2 separate regions of the Homo sapiens genome follow, and region 1 is linked to region 2. Evidence: promoter capture Hi-C in human tissues and cell types (Jung and others, 2019). All regions are on one chromosome and are shown on one strand. The core of a region is centred on a gene start or on the middle of the fragment in contact, and the rest is flanking DNA. Distances in the headings are between cores, read along the strand shown.

Evidence for each region. Contacts are between HindIII fragments. The study calls those that stand out against the background at their distance.
Region 1: a contact is called between a fragment that was not itself captured here and the fragment with the promoter of LY6E in region 2, in 2 of the 25 tissues and cell types used here (liver and lymphoblastoid cells).

The regions. Positions count from the first base shown.
Region 1 is chr8:142,888,586-142,893,805 of GRCh38, reverse strand. No RefSeq gene overlaps it. Among named protein-coding and RNA genes, the nearest start is that of CYP11B1, 11 kb to the right of the region's middle. The HindIII fragment of the contact is 8,238 bases long and covers 1-5,220 here.
Region 2 is chr8:143,015,114-143,020,041 of GRCh38, reverse strand. LY6E (lymphocyte antigen 6 family member E) reads right to left here and starts at 1,513. Exons shown (of 4, transcript NM_002346.3): 1 at 1,456-1,513. LY6E-DT (LY6E divergent transcript) reads left to right here and starts at 1,652. Exons shown (of 2, transcript NR_026913.1): 1 at 1,652-1,882. The HindIII fragment of the contact is 17,617 bases long and covers 1-4,928 here.

The DNA of each region.
Region 1 (5,220 bases), core at 1,040-3,539, 130 kb after region 2:
ACCTGCTGCCTTGAAGGGAAGGGCCAAGTCTGGCAGGAATCATCACCTGCTAACTAAAGAGACCTTGGACCTTGAATAATAAGCAGCTATACCCAGGTTCTTCATCAAGGGCTTTAGGTGAGAATCTGAGACTTGCTGGCTTCAGGTGAAGCTTAGCAGATTCCCCACTGTGGTGAGAGAGATAGACCCCCAATACAATAGTAAGTGGAGACGTCAATACCTCACTTTGACTATCGGACAGATCTTCCAGACAGAAAGTCAACAAAGAAACATCAGACTTAATCTGAACTATAAACCAAATGGACCTAGTAGATATTTGCAGAATATTTTATCCAACGGCTACAGAATACACATTATTTTCCTCAGCACATGGATCATTCTCAAGGATAGACCGTAGGTTAGGTCAAAAAACAAATCTTAAAACATTCAAAAAATTGAAATAATATTGAGCATCTTCTATGACCACAATGAAATAAAACTAGAAATCAATTAACAAGAAGAATTTTGGAAACTATACAAATATATGGAAGTTAAACAATATCCTCCTGAATGACCACTGGGTCAATGAAAAAATTAAGAAGAAAATTGAAAAATTTCTTGAAACAAATGATACTGGAAACAAAACATACCAAAATTTATGGGATACAGCAAAAGCAGTACTAAGAGGGAACTTTATAGCTGTAAGTGCCTATCTCAAAAAAGAAGAAAAACTTCAAATAAAACCTAAGGAACAGAAATAAATGAAATTGAAATGAAGAAAGTGATACAAAAGATCAATGAAACAAAAAGTTGGGTCTTTCTTTGAAAAGATAAACAAAGTTGACAAAACTTTAGCCCAACTAACTAAGAAAAAAAAAGAGAAGATTCAAATAAATAAAATCAGAAATGAAAAAAGAGATATTAAAACTGATGCTGCAGAAACTCAAAGGATAATTAGTGGCTACTATGAGCAACTACATGCCAATAAATTGGAAAATCTAGAAGAAATGGATACATTTCAAGACACAAAAACCTACCAAGATTGAACCTTGAAAAAATAAAAAACCTGAACAGACAAATAGCAAGTAATGAGATTTACTCCATAATAAAATGTCTCCAAGTAAAGAGAAGCCCTGGACTCAATAGCTTCACCGCTGAATTCTACCAAGCATTTAAAGAAGAACTAATACCAATCCTACTGAAACTATTCTGAAAAATAAAGGATGAAGGAATACTTCTGAACTCATTCTACAAGACCAGTATTACCCTGATACCAAAACCAGACAAAGACACATAAAAAAATTAAAGGCCAATATCTCTGATAAATATTGATGCAAAAATCCTCAACAAAATACTATCAAATTGAATTCCACAATACGTTAAAAAGACCATTCATCACGACCAAGTGAGATTTATCTCTGGGATGCAAGAATGGTTCAACAAATGCAAATCAATCAGTGTGATACATCCCATCAACAGAATGAAGGACAAAAACTGTATAATCATTTCCATTGATGCTGAAAAACATTTAATAAAATTCAACATCCTTTTATGATAAAAACAAACCCTCAAAAAACTGGGTGTAGAAGGAATATACTTTAACATAATAAAAGCCATATATTACAGACCCACAGCTAGTATCATACTGAATGGGGGAAAACTGAAAGCCTGTCCTCCAAGATCTAGAGAATGACAAGGATGCCCACTATCACCACTGTTATTCAACATAGTACTGGAAGTCCTAGCTAGAGGAGTCAGACAAGATAAAGATATAAACAACATCCACATTAGAAAGGAAGCAGTGAAATTATCCTTGTTTGCAGATTATATAATCTTATATTTGGAAGAATATAAAGACTCCACAAAAAAACTATTAGAACTTATAAACAAATTCAGTAAAGTTGCAGAATACAAAATCAACTTACAAAAATCAGTAGCATTTCCATATGCCAACAGTGAACAATTTGAAAAATAAAAAGTAATTCCATTTACAATAACCACAAATAAAATTAAATACCTGAGATTAACTAAAGAAGTGAAAGACTATTAAACAGTGATGAAAGAAATTGAAGAAGACACCAAAATGTTCGTTGATTGGAAGGATTGATATGGTTAAAATGTCCATACTACCCAAAGCAATCTACAGATTCAATGCAGTCCCTCTCAAAATACCAGTGATATTCCTCACAGAAATAGAAAAACAATCCTAAAATCTATATGGAACCACAAAAGACCCGGAATAGCCAAAGTTACCCTAAGCAAAGGAACAAAACTGGAGAAATCACATTACTTGACTTCATATTATACTACAGAAGTATAGTAAGCAAAGCAGCAGGGTACTGGCATTAAAACAGACACATAGATCAATGGAATAGAATAGAGAGCTAAGAAAAAAATCCATACACAACAGTGAACTCATTTTTGACAAAGGTGCCAAGGAAAAGACAGTCTCTTCAATAAATGGTGCTGAGAAAACTGGATATCTATATGCAGAAGAATGAAATTAGACCCGTTTCTCACCATATACAAAAATCAAATCAAAATGGATTAAAGTCATAAACATAAAACCTCATACTATGAAACTACTATAAGAAAATATTGGAGAAACTTTCCAGGACATTGGTCTGGGCAAAGATTTCCCGAATAATAACCCACAAACACACACAACCAAAACAAAAATGGACAAATAGGATTACATCAAGTTAGAAAACTTCTGCACAGCAAAGTAAACAATTGCCAAGGTGAAGCGACAACCCACAGAATGGGAGAAAATATTTGCAAGCTACCCATCTGACAAAGGAGTAATAATCAGAATATATAAGGAGTTCAAACAACTCTGTAGGAAAAAAAACTAATAATCCAATTTAAAAATGGGCAAAATATTCGAATAGACATTTCTTAAAAAAAGACATACAAACAGTAAACAGGCATATGAAAAGCTGCTCAACATCATTATCATCAGAGAAATGCAAATAAAAACTACCATGAGATATTTTCTCACCCCAGTTACAATGGCTTGTATCCAAAAGACAGGCAATAACAAATGCTAGCGAGGAAGTGGAGAAAGGGAACCCTTCTACACTGTTGGTAGGAATGTAAATTAGTGCAACCACTATAGAAAATAGTTTGGGGGTTCCTCAAAAAACTAAAAATAGAGGTACCATACAATCCAGCAATCTCATTGCTAGGTATATACCCAAAAGAAAGGAAATTGGTATATGGGATCTGCACTAGCATGTTTATTGCAGTACTGTTCACAACAGCCAAGATTTGGAAGCAATCTAAGTGTGCGTCAACAGATAAAAGGATAAAGGAAATGTGGTGAATATACACAATGGAGTACTATTCAGCCATGAAAAAGCATTTGATCCTGTCATTTGCACCAACAAGGATGGAACTGCAGATTATTACATTAATTGAAATAAGCCAGGCACAGAAAGACAAGCATTGCATGTTCTCACTTATTTGTGGGATCTAAAAACTGAAACAATTGAACTCATGGGGATACAGAGTAGGATAGTTACCAGAGGCTAAGAATGGTAGTGAGGGAGTGGAGGTGAGGTGAGAATGGTTAAAATATAGAAAGAATGAATAAGACCTACTATTTGATAGCACAACAGGGTGATTATAATCAATGACAATTTAATTGTACATTTAAAAATCACTAAAAGCGTATAATTGTGAGATGGTTTGGCTGTGTGTCCCCACCCAAATCTCATGTCGAACTGTAATTCCCACGTGTTGGAGGAGGGTCCTGGTGGGAGATGCTTGGATCATGGAGGGGTGGTTTCTAATGGTTAAGCACCATCCCTCTTGTGCTGTCTCATGATAGAGTTCTCATGAGATTTGGTTGTTTGAAAGTATGTAGCACCTCCCCCTTCACTCTCTCTCTCTCCTGCTCTGTCATGTTAAGACGTGCCTGCTTCCCCTTCATCATCTGCCATGACTGTAAGTTTCCTGAGGTCTTCCAGCTATGCTCCCTGTACAGCCTGCAGAACTGTGAGTCAACCAAACCTCTTTTCTTTATAAATTACCCAGTCTCAGATAGTTATTTATAGCAGTGTGAGAACAGACTAATACAGAAAATTGGTACCAGAGAAATGGGGCATTGCTATAAAGATAACTGGAAAGGTGGAAGTGACTTTGGAACTGGGTAATAGGCAGAGGTTGGAACAATTTGGAGGAATCAGAAGAAGACAGGCAGATGAGAGAAAGTTTGGAACCTCCTGGAGACTTGTTGAATGGCTTCGACCAAAATGCTGATAGTGATATGGACAGAGATGGCCAGGCAGATGAGTTCTTAGATGGAAATGAGGAACTTACTGGGAACTGGCATAAAGGTCACTCTTGCTATACTTTAGCAAAGAGACTGGTGACATTATGCCCCTGCTCTAGAGATCTGTGGAACTTTGAACTTGAGAGAAATAATTTAGGGCATCTGGCAGAAGAAATGTCTAAGCAGCTGCATTGAAGAGGTTACCTGGCTGTTTCTAAAAGTGTATTCTCATATGTATGAAGAAAGAGATTATCTGAAATTTGAACTTATATTTAAAAGAGGAGAGTATGAAAGCTGGGAAAATTTGCAGTTCGACCATGCAGTAGAAAAGAAAAACCCATTTTCTAGGGAAGAATTCAAGGCTGCAGAAATTTGCATAAGTAAAGGAGAGCCAAATGTTAATAGCCAAGTGTATTTATCCTTTCTCATGCTGCTATAAGGACATACCTGAGACCGGGCGATTTATAGAGAAAAGAGGTTTAATTGATCCACGGTTCTGCAGGGCTGGGGAGGCTTCAAGAAACTTACAATCATGGCAGAAGGGGAAGCAAACACATCCCTCTTCACATAGTAGCAGCAAGGAGAAGTGCAGCATGAAGGGTGAGGGTGGGGAGCCCCTTATAAAACCATTAGATCTTGTGGGAACTCACTCACTCACTATCACAAGAACAGCACAGAGGTAACTGCCTCCATGATTCAATTACCTCCCACTGGGTCCTTCCCATGACACATGGGGATTATGGGAACTACAGTTCAAGATGAGATTTGGGTAGGGACACAGCCAAACCGTATCACCAAGACAATGCAGACAATGCCTTCAGGGCATTTCAGAGACATTTGTGGCAGTCCCTCCCATCACAGGCCTGGAGACCTAGGAGGGAAAAATGGTTTTGTGGGCCAGGTCCAGGGCCTTGCTGATCTGCACAGCCTCAGAACATGGTGTCCTGCATCCCAGTGACTCCAGC
Region 2 (4,928 bases), core at 264-2,763:
TATCTGCTACTCCCCATTCTGTGGCTGGGAAATGGGCTCCGAGAGACAAGGCTGCGTGCCACTGGTCCCACCAGCAGGAAAGGGCCAGATGGGTCGCTGTACTGCTCCTCGGCCTCTGCACAGGACCCTCTGCACTGCTGGAGAAAGAATCTGGAACACACCCAGCTGGGGTCGTGATTCTCTGTTTTGTGAGTGCATGGTGTTGGAGGGGGAGGCTGCTGCCTTCTGTCAGGGACAGCCGTGGGCAGAGGAGTGGGAGGGACATCCCGGGCCTGGGGAGCTAGTGCTGGGCACTGGGGGTAAGGAGGATGCCTCAGAGAACAGATCTGGAGAGGGGCCCGCAGAGGCCCTAAGGGGAGAGCAGCAGGCCAGGACAGTGAGACCTGGGCTGACATCCTGGGGTTGGGAGTGGGAGCCCCAGGTGGCCAAAAACAGTGCCAAGTCCGGCTGGGGCCTATCCCCGCCTCCAGGGAGTAGCCCGAGGAGGAAGGATCTCCAATTCCTTTTCCCCCCACCCCCCTAAAGTGAGGTTCTGGTGTGGGGGGGTCCCTGAGCTGTCTCTGAGGAAGTCCTAGCATACAGGGCCACAAACAGGTCCAGCTGGTGCCGCCACCTGCTCACTGGGTGGCACCCAACCCGCTGGGCCACCAGGCTGAGCTAAGGCACCGGTGGGAGCCGAAGGCAATTAGGAAGGCCGGGTGGGCCATGGAGCCCGGAGGGAGCCAGCCGGCAGGCCGTGGGGGGCGCCCCTGGGGCCCAGGCTGCAGGCTCATGGCTCATCCCCAGGCTCAGGGAAGCTGGCCCCTGGGAGCCAGGTATCTAGGGGCTGCCCAGCCAGCAAGGGGCGGGAGCCTCTCCTGTGTCCCGGAACGGGGAGGGGCCCGGCGGTCCACTCAGGGAGGCTGGGCTCCTTGGACCTCACCGCAAGCACCACCAGTGCCAAAACAAGAAGCGGGGGCGGGTTCCAGTGCTCCGGGGTGATATGCCGGGGGCGGTCAATCCTCCCTTTCCGGCCAGGAGCTCTGCAAGGTCCCGTGCCCCCTCCCCTAGTCCTCAAGGCTGTCCCTCCCGGCCCACGTAGAGGAGCCAGGAGCGTCTGGAGTTGGGTGATGGGCTCCAGTGGCTGCGCAGCCCTGGGGCGGCCGGGAGGCTCCTGGCGGCAGTCTCCGCCCGCTCCCGCCCCAGATCTTTGGAAACATTCGGGGAGGCCTGCGGGGGATGGGAGGAGAAGCTCAGCTCTCTGGGGACCAACCCACCGGCAGCCCCAGCCCCTCTCCTGCGCCTCCCCGTGCGCCCCTCTTGCTCTCTCCCACCCTCTCCCGCCCCGGCCCCCGCAGGGCGCCTTCCGCCGCGCGTGGCTGAGCCGGGGCCGCGTGCACCGCAGCCGAGGCCGCCGGGTCTGAGCGCGTGCGCGCAGGTGGCGGGGGCGTCCCGGCCGGGGGCCCGCGGACTCACCGCCGGGCGGACGCAGGTACCAGCAGCCTGGCCGAGCTCCCCGAACCTCGCGCGCTCTGGACCGCGGCTGGCCCGGAGCCTCCCAGGCAGCCGCGCGGCCCCGGGGCGGGGGCAGGGGCGGGACGCGGGAGGGGCCTCCGGCGGGCGGAGTCGGCGAGCCCGCGGTGGGGGTCCCCGCGCCGCCCAGGCCTACCCCGGCTCCTTGGGATAGATGGGGAAGCTGAGGCCCAGAAGGGGGCTGAGACCACCTCCCAGTTTCCCCAGTGAGGTGGCGCCTGAGCCACGGCCAGGCCCGGCCTCCTTCCACCCGGCCCTGCTGTGCGCGCGGCGGGTGCTGACCTGGCGAGGCCGGACAGGGGACCAGGTCGGGGTGACCGTCACTGACACCTGGACAGTCCTCGTTGTGTTCGGGGTGGGAAGCCCACGGGTGAGCAGACGTGTTTGGGTGTGAGCACGGAGGAGGGGTGCCTCGGAGAGTGTCGGGGAGCAGTGTTGGGGGTCTCGCCTGCGGAGTGGAGCTCGGGAGGGGAGGACGCAGGCACCCCCGCAGCCTGGGATTCCTGAGGTCATCTTGTCCCTGCTTCCCGCTCCAGGCTGGGCTGTTCCTTGGCCATCCCTCAGGCGGGGGTGGGGAGACCGGCAAGGGTTGGGAGGTGGGAGGTTGTGGGTGCTGGCTTCTGCGAGGGCACTGAGGCTCTGCCATCGGTGGGTGCCTCTCCTCCCGCCAGGCCCTCTCCGAGGGGCTGTGGGCGCTGGGGCTCTGCCACCGGCCTGTTCTCCAGTTGACAGTGCGTTTCCTTTCTGGGTGACAGGGCGAGCACCAGGGAGGGGTCTTCTGAACCCCACACGGGAGTAGGGGGAGGGTGTGCGGAAATGTGAGGGTGGGCAGGTGGCCATGTGGTCAGGAGGGGGCTGGGGCTGACAGACACCTGTAACACCCCTGTCTCAAATCTAGGGGTGCAGTCAATGTGGCTGTGTGTGTGTTTTGCATGAGTGAGTGTGTGTGGTGCGTGTGTGTGTGTGTATGGAGGCTGAGGCTGGGGCTGTGTGTGTCACGAGATGTCCTGGCCGTGGTATGATGGCATCGTGGGTGGGGCTTCCACAGCTTTGGGGGCGATGGCCCAGCTGTCTCTGGGGACAGGAGCCTCCAGTAGGCTGTGGCCCGGGGGAGTCCCTGCCTCTGGGTCTTACGTGGGGCACAGGCAGGGCATCTTCCCCTCTGGAATGTTGGCGGTGAGGGCAGGGGGTTCTGTCTCTGCAGCCGGCACCTGGGGCCATCCCTGCCATGGCAGGGGCTCAGTAAGAACTGTGGGACGAAAGCACGGGTGGGTTTGCCCCCTTCAAGACAGGACCCTCTGATTCAGAAAACAAGCTGCATTAGGAGGAGGGCTGTTTGGAAAAAACTCTCAAACCATTTATCCTGTCTCTCACTCAACACAGAAGACATCAACACAGGAGACTCCCAAGACTGCTGGGGCCAAATGTGGCAGGTGGACGTCTCCCCGCCACCGAGCAAGCCATCAGTTCTGCAGCGGACACCAGCCGAGTGTCCTCCAACACCATTCCGGTACCTGCAGATAGCGTCAGATCCAGACACCTACACACACACACACACACACACACACACACACATATGCACACACATGAGCTGCGAGGGCCAGCCTCTGGAACTTCTTACCGACTGGCCCGACGTTGAGGTTCCCACTGTTAGAGGAACGCTTGCTCACCAGGCCTCTGGTTTAATGAAACATGACCAGAGTGACTCCATCTTGAAGTGAGTAGGAGGCACTCACAAGGCACCTATAAGGTTAATGCTTATGGTCTAAAAATAGCCATGTCTCAAGCTGGACACCAATTATAATTACAGAATATTTGTGGCCATATGGGGCATCTCCCAGCAAGCCCGCAGACTGTCCAGATAACCCAAGAGTGCAGGCCACTTTACTCAGAGATAATTTCAATGAGCAGCCTGAGGTTGGAGGATGAACGGGCACTGATGGCACCCACAGCCCCTATCCTTAGTGGGTGCATCTGCCCATTCCAGGTGTAATTGTAGCTCCTTACAGTTTCTTGTAAGCAGAGGCACTAACAGAGGACAGGCCCTCCTCCTCCTGCTTTCTGAGCACGCCCCACTCTGGAACGGAGCCATTTCAAATAAACCTGCTTCTCTCACTGTGCTCTGTGGCTCACCCCAAATTACTTCCTGCACAACATCCAAGAACCTGCTCTTGGGGTCTGGATCAGGACCCTCTTTCCCAGCAATACTGCAGCCCCTCCCGGTTTTGCGTTCAATTGATTTGCAAGAGTGGCTCAGGGAACTCAGGGAAACACATTTGCAGTTAATTATAAATGGATACACGCGAGAGGCACAGGGCGCCGTCTCCCGGAAGGGGTGGGGAGCTTCCATGCCGCCCACGTGGCCCCTCCAGGAAACCTCTATGTGCTCAGCATTCCTGCCCCCAGGGCATGGGACTGATCCTCTCTGAATGAGCCTCTTTGGGCCCATGATCAGAAAGGAGAGGGAGTACTGGAGACCTGCCTTGGGGCAGGTGAAAGGGGAGCAGGAGATGTCACAGAGATTCCATTTCTACCCACAACTGTAACAAGGGCCATGGAGTCCTGACCGGGCCGAATGCCAACTCTCCCCCCACACATCTACCTCCTTCTTACGTAGCAGCACTCCTTCTCACACAGCACTCCCTCCTCCTCCTCACACAGGACTCCCTCCCCCCTCACACAGGACTCCCTCCCCCTCACACAGGACTCCCTCCTCCTCCTCACACGGCACTCCCTCCTCCTCACACAGGACTCCCTCCTCCTCCTCACATGGGACTCCTTCCTCCTCACACAGGACTCCCTCCTCCTCACACAGCACTCCCTCCTCCTCACACAGGACTCCCTCCTCCTCCTCACATGGGACTCCTTCCTCCTCACACAGGACTCCCTCCTCCTCCTCACACGGGACTCCCTCCTCCTCACACAGGACTCCCTCCTCCTCACACGGGACTCCCTCCTCCTCACACGGGACTCCCTCCTCCTCACACAGGACTCCCTCCTCCTCACACGGGACTCCCTCCTCCTCACACGGCACTCCCTCCTCCTCACACAGGACTCCCTCCTCCTCCTCACACAGCACTCCCTCCTCCTCACACGGGACTCCCTCCTCCTCACACGGGACTCCCTCCCCCTCACACGGCACTCCCTCCTCCTCACACGGCACTCCCTCCTCCTCACACAGGACTCCCTCCTCCTCACATGGGACTCCCTCCTCCTCACACGGCACTCCCTCCTCCTCACACGGGACTCCCTCCCCCTCACACGGCACTCCCTCCCCCTCACACAGGACTCCCTCCTCCTCACACAGGACTCCCTCCTCCTCACACAGCACTCCCTCCTCCTCACACAGGACTCCCTCCTCCTCCTCACATGGGACTCCTTCCTCCTCACACAGGACTCCCTCCTCCTCCTCACAC